2 separate regions of the Homo sapiens genome follow, and region 2 is linked to region 1. The links are contacts of gene promoters, found by promoter capture Hi-C in blood cells and fetal thymus (Javierre and others, 2016). All regions are on one chromosome and are shown on one strand. The core of a region is centred on a gene start or on the middle of the fragment in contact, and the rest is flanking DNA. Distances in the headings are between cores, read along the strand shown.

Region 1 (3,084 bases), core at 200-2,699:
GGACTACAGGCATGTACCACCACACCTGGCTAAGCAACACTATTTCTGAATAATCAATATTTCACTGGATACTTTTATGTAGTGTGAGTAGGTAGGCAAAATCGTCTAACCTCTCTGAAAACTATACATATATATTATATATATAGTTTATATATATGTAGTTATTTATAACTTTTCCCTTTGGGGGTGTAATGGTTTACAGCTGTGAGTAGAAGAGCCTGCTGGGGGAGCAACATACTGGGTATTCACCGTTTAGTCTACGGTGTCTAGCTGATGCCAGGAACAAGCAAGGGCTCAATATTTGTGTGCTGAATTAAACTGATTACAACTGAACCATGTAAGAATGGTGGTAGCCTCAGAGAGGCAGCCTCACTCCACAGGCGCATGCCACCGAGGGCCTGTTGGTCCACACGGTGCTACAGTGAGAGCTCAATGAAAAGGCCCTGCAAGACACCATTTCTCCCCAATAGAAATGTGCTTTGTTTGTGATTATTCAGTCCTTTTGTTAGAACAGGTCTCCCACCTATCTCCCAGGAAATAATATGTACACAAATCTGTGAGTCTAGGATGTGAAGGAGACACCATTAGATGTGGCATCTTCTGGGTCAGACCAGTGCAGGGCCAGGTACAAGAAGCAGGGGCTCTCCTTCCCCAGTTGCTGCTGACATTTGGGGCTTGCTTTGGTCTTCTCCCAGGAGAGATCATTTGAGCCTTTTCAGGTCTGGAGTTGTTTGAACTGACTTAAGAGGAATTTTCCGCAGGAACGAAGCAATAAGAAGCTTCCGAGATCCAGTATTTCCAGATAAGCCAAAATTCTAGATTTATATGGATAAAGCAGGCAGTTCTACTAGGAGACTATCATGAGGAATATGATGTACCCAGGCCAGTGGCAGGATAGCTGTGCGCCGAAATGAAATAAATGCTGGTGGTATTTCACATACCCCATCAGAGGAAGCAAGAAAATAGAGTTACAATATTTTGTATTATTAAATTGAGACTAGCAATTTCAACTTAGAACAGGATCAATTGTATAGCATTTCACAGTTTACCACACATTTTGAGTGAATGCTTTTTTTTTTAACCATTGGAACCTCATAAACAACTCCAAATAACATACAAAAAGCAGATTGTGAGCTACAACATTACCAGGTCACAGGTCTTCATTTCCCATGAGGTACTCGAGACCCATGAGTGACTTGTCTAAGGTCACACAACTGGTGTTTAATAGAGCCAGTCTTCTGTTAGCCATACCTACTGCTAAAAATTAGCCTTTGCAAGTGAAGAGAACAAAAACGTGTGGTTGGTTGTCACCCCCACAATGAACGACAATGCTGCACTTGCAGCATTATTGACACCTAAGGTTGATGACAGTCCTGTCTCTTTAAGAAGAAAAAAAAAGGCTGCTGGGTAGGGGGAGCGACTGACTGCGGCAGGAGCCGCCTGGACCCAGTGCGGCTGCGGGACAGTCACGCTGGGAACTGCTGATGGCACTGGAGGAAAACAAAGGCCGAGAGACCCTGATGCCCACAGCCCCCAGTAAGTCCAAGGTTCCAGCTGGGTGGCCAGCGAGGGCAGCTGCAGGAGCGGCCTGGGGACGGGCAGGCTCCATGGTGTTGTTGGCCATCCGTCCCCTGAGCCTTGGGAAACCAGGGCTCGGCCACTGCAGCTGCTTGGGGGAGGTAAGGGGCCACTTTCCTTTAACATACCCGCCTTCGGAGAGGACAGAGACGAGAGGGCCTTCAGCGTGCTGTACAGCTGTGAGTAATGAGCTCTTCTGAAAATGTACAGTTTGGGTTGGCTGCTTGTGAATTTGTGGGTGAGGAGCGGCTGCAGGGTGACTAGAGAGATCTGCCGCGGTCAAGATGCTGGACTAGCCGCTTTGTCATTTTAATTTCCACCCGGGTTGCCAGGCACCGCCACAATGGAGCTGTTGCAGTAACACAGCGTGGGGTCCAGAGTCTTATTGAACAATAAGATGGGATTCTCAAAGTAGCTTACGGTTAATTTGCAGAATTGCTCTCACTTTAAACAGCATGCCTTCAAACAATGCCATATGTTATGGTTATCTTATATAATATTTGAAAATCCTGCTTTTAGTTAAAAAATATTTCACATATTTAATTTTATTCTAATAAGCGATCATTAGATTCTTTGAAAGAGTATTCCAGCTTTAGCAACAAAACCTCTCTCTCGCTGTCTTTTTTTCTTCCTTAAAACGAGGTCAATACCTCAGAGAAGAGGACTGGATTTGTTTCTATTAAAACATATCAATTGTTTTGGCTTTAATCTTAATTCTCTCTGCCCCTGAAGATGGATAAAGCCCATTCCGCTTAAGTAAAAGGCAGAAGCCAGGTTGAATCCACGTGCTTCCCAAGCGCAAGCTGCTCTGAAGTTATTTTGAAGGGGAACTCTTCATTTCTCCATCAGTGCAGATAAAAGTAATTGATTCACAGGTCATGGATGAAAATAATAATAATAATAATAAATAATTGACAATCCCATTTTATTTGTCACATGACAAGTAGATTTGCCATTCTGTTTTTCTTAAGCTGCCCATTGATAACCAGACTCATTCTACGTTAATGCAGGGTCATGATGTCCCAGTAGTTTTACTTATGACCATCCAGACTGCCTTCCCTAATCTTGCCCTGAAGCCTCACTTTGGGCTGTGACAACGATCCCCAGTTTCCTTTCCTCTATCCTCCTTAGCCGTCCCTTTCATCCTTTCTTCTCCTTCCTGGGCTGTTTGGGCAATTTTTTCTTTCTTTTCTCCTTGGATCTTAAAGACTCCTTCAGTCTCCCTTTCAAACAAAGCAAGCCAGATTTTCTACATACCCTATTTTCCTTTAATCTTACTTGGTTTATAAGAACTTTTCCACGATTAAGTGTTTTCTATTCTTCACATAATAGGAAGAAAAGTCCAATTATAGAACTTGAAGACCAAGGTTTGCTTACATCTGAAGCATCTCAAAACCATTGCTTTACGCAGGACTTGCCCCCAGAAGCCCCGGGTTCCAATCTCAGGTCTACCACATCCTTACTCTGCAGCCCCTGACAATCCACATAACTTCTGTGAGCCTCAGT
Region 2 (3,584 bases), core at 457-2,956, 790 kb before region 1:
CAAAAAAAAAAAAAAAAAAAAAAAGAGTACAAGAGGGGAGAAACCCTATTTTTACAAAAAATTAGCTGGGCATGCTGGCAGGTGCCTGTAATCCTAGCTAATCGGGAGGCTGAGGCGGAAGAATCGCTTGAACCCGGGAGATAGAGGTTGCAGTGAGCTGGGATGCACCATTGCACTCCAGCCTGGTGACAGAGTGAGTGAAATTCCATCTCAAGAAAACAAAAGTACAAGAGGAAGCCTGATGTGCTATATAAGAATTCTGAGGCCGGGCGTGGTGGCTCACACCTATAATCCTAGCACTTTGGAAGGCTGAGGTAGGCGAATCACTTGAGGCCAGGAGTTTGAGACCACCTGACCAACACGGCAAAACCCTGTCTCTACTAAAAATACAAAAATTAAGCTGGCATGTTAGTACACGCTTGTAATCTCAGCTACTTGGGAGGCTGAGACATGAGAACTGCTTAAACTTGTGAGGCAAAGGTTGCAGTGAGCCAAGATCGCACCACTGCATTCCAGCCTGGGTAACTGAATGAGACTGTCTCAATAAAAAAAAAAGAATTTTGAAGAAATGACTGCAACTGAAAAATGTGATGAATATCTGGAGGCAAATTCGTAGAATTATCAACATGTGCACGCACCTTTAATAAACTGAATTTCAATATAATTGTTGTTCTGCTTTCTATCTTTGGTGATCTTTTGTGGGTAGAAATTAAATTTGATATAACTAACAATAGCAAATATACATATAAAACCATAAAATGGTCAAAATCACCCTGGCAAATAACTACACACTAGTTCATATATATTCACTTAACAGGTTCTCAGGAATAAAATATTTCAATGATTTTTAAAAAAATAATTCTGTTAAGCAGAAAATAAAATCCAATCTTTAACATAAAAAAACCCTCCAGACATATACAAATCCTTTTTTAGGGAGGGGAGGTTACAAACTACGAGTGGCGCAGGTAGGGTGTTTAGTGGAAGGAATGTTACCCTTCATCCTTCATCTCACCCAGGAATTAGTGAAGTTTGGTCAGTTGTACAAACAGGAGCCAACAGAACTGGAACTCCTTCCTAAGTCTGGTAACTACTCCTGTGTCCTTACAACTGCTCCACAGGCTCAAATATGCAAATGAGCAGACGGTTCTCAATAGTCAAGACCTCTCAAACTGGTGAGCTCTCCACGGGAACCTCAGGTAACAGACAATATGCAGTCTCACTTCTCTGGCTGCCCAGGGGACCTTGAGACTAATCTCAATCTGAAAGTACTCTGCGATAGTCCTACTTTCTAGGTCTTTCTACAAAGGTTCTACTAACCAGGTCTGTCTGTACAGCAAAGGTCAAGATGGACAGTGCAGAGGCTGTCCTGGCTTCTGAGTCTGCAAACTTGCTGTGCAATCATTCATCTGTAGGTGCTAAGACAAAACTGAGGTCCTCCCCAGGGATGGGTGGGAAGGAGCATTTGCTAGGGGATTATTCTCTATGGCAAGCACCATCTATACCTGCAAATCAATCTAGAAATGTATGTGAAGAATAATCTGCAATATATACACATGAATGCATTTCCCCATCTTCCAGCTATGTAAGGTAATATTACTCAGTGTTTATAAAGTGAAAATTATAAAGATGTTTGATAGAATATGAAAAAAACTGCTGTTGTAACCTTGACAGCTATTAGCTTAGTCAATTAATGAGGTGCTTATGATCTACTCTAAAATAAGTACAATAACCCATCATAAAAATCTCTTTAAACAAGCATCATTCAAAGGCCGACAGGTACCAAACTGCATGTTCCTAATTCATTCCTAGGAAATTAAACAGACTTAGTGATGGTGGTGGGAGGTGGACAGGTACCTAGGTGGGAAGGGGCGGGTCCGCAGTGAAACCCCACCTTCAAGCCAGGGACAGCCTGAAGCCTCAGGGCACAGATGCCAATTTCGTGTGAAGTCAGCGACCTGGAGTGAGAACTTCCTTGATGCCTTTCAACCAATCAAATGGTGCTTTTTCCAGGCCTGCCCATGGACCAATCAGCATGCACTTCCTCCATTCTGAGCCTATAAAAACCCCCAGACTCCGCCACTCATTGGGACTACCTGCCTGCAGAGAGGAGCAACACATTCCAGGTCTCCTATGGGCTGAGAGTTGTTCAGTCACCCAATAAAGCTCTTCTCAGCCTTGCTCACCCTCCGTTTGTCCACGTAACTTCATTTTTCCTGGATGTGGAACCTGCCCAATGGTGGGAGCGAAAGGAGCTGTAACACTTTCCCGGATGGCTCGCCCAGCTGCAGGTGGGAGTTAAAGGGGCTGCAACAAATTCCTGGCCAGCTCACCGAGCTACAGACAGTGACATGCCCCTGGACTGCAGGCGTGAAGAGTGGCAACCCTTCTGGGGGCCCAAACCTTGGGATTCCCTCAACTAAAGTTGTAACACTATAACCCTCCCAATTTCCACCAGCACCAGGCAGCTGCAACATGCAACAGGAAGCAGTGGTGGGGCTAGACCAGCCCAAGAGCTGCATGCTGGAGTGGGGCAGTGGGACTGAAGGAGATATAACACAAATGGGGTGAAACATACTCCCAGAAACAAGCCCCCCTGCTTGCTGTAATGCAGGTGATGAGAAGAAGAGAGCTGTGGCCCTTCTGGGAGCCCAGATGAGAACCAGGCTGTGACAGGCCGTAACACCCTCTTTGGGGCTCTGTGATTCCTGGTATCTCTGAGCTTTCACTCGTCACCACGTTCCCCTCGTCCACACGCTGGTGCCTGCAGCGGAAGCCAGCTACAGTGCATCTGGTCCAGCCACAGCCTTGCATGGAGCCAGCACCTGTGCCGGCACCTGGAGCTGCCTGCCCTGCTGCAACAGCTGACATGCCTGGCTGTGTGCAGAGGCTGGACTCCATGCTCACTCACTCACACACCCCTCGCTGCTCCATTCCTGGTTTGCCCTTGGCAGGCATGGGATCTGGGCTGGCAGTGCAAGCCGAATGCAGCCTGCTGGGCAGAATGGGTGGAACGAGGCTAGTGGGCACGAGCAAAACTCAAGCAGAGGCACTGCCAGCCCACAGAGGTTTCCAGCTGGTCAAGTGACACCCACAGGTGCTGTGACATTAGGACAGGTAATAGTCTCTTAACAGAAAGAATTTCACTTATATGTACTTTGTGGGAAAGGTTACAGAAACAGCTTAAAATACAAAGAAGAAAGATATGAGTCAGAGCTGCATGGAGCAGAAGACAGTTTGTTTACAACTTATTTTTTTCCCCCAGAATCTAGTACCTGGTACATGTTCAATAAACATCTTTTGAATGAAAGGTGTGGCAAATGTCATCTCAATGAATCTCGTACATTGTCAATTTATTTCAAAGGAGATAGAGATTACTTCTGAACTTGGTAAACAGCAACTTGACAACTCCCATTCCCACTAATACTGTAAGGGCAACAAGGTCAGCAGAGGGCCACTGACCTTGACAGGTTAGGGACCAAGGGCAACACCTGTGCAAGCTCCCTTCCCGCAGGAGGGTCGCCCACATGAGGGACCTCGCCGCTGCCCTTACCTCCTCCTTCTCCTTTTCTTCTGGGCCGGCTGCC

Evidence for each region. The method cuts DNA at HindIII sites, captures the fragments that hold promoters and counts their contacts. A CHiCAGO score of 5 or more calls a contact.
Region 2: a fragment that was not itself captured here is called in contact with the fragment with the promoter of SACS in region 1 in 1 of 17 cell types (total B cells); the score reaches 5.3 in total B cells.

Annotation. Positions count from the first base shown.
Region 1 is chr13:23,432,067-23,435,150 of GRCh38, reverse strand. It overlaps SACS (sacsin molecular chaperone), which reads left to right and starts at 1,449. Exons shown (of 10, transcript NM_014363.6): 1 at 1,449-1,536. RefSeq lists an enhancer at 1,630-2,197. The HindIII fragment of the contact is 4,074 bases long and covers 782-3,084 here.
Region 2 is chr13:24,224,549-24,228,132 of GRCh38, reverse strand. It overlaps SPATA13 (spermatogenesis associated 13), which reads right to left. Exons shown (of 13, transcript NM_001166271.3): 2 at 3,551-3,584. Among named protein-coding and RNA genes, the nearest start is that of SPATA13-AS1, 28 kb to the left of the region's middle. RefSeq lists an enhancer at 2,303-3,159. The HindIII fragment of the contact is 5,204 bases long and covers 1-3,584 here.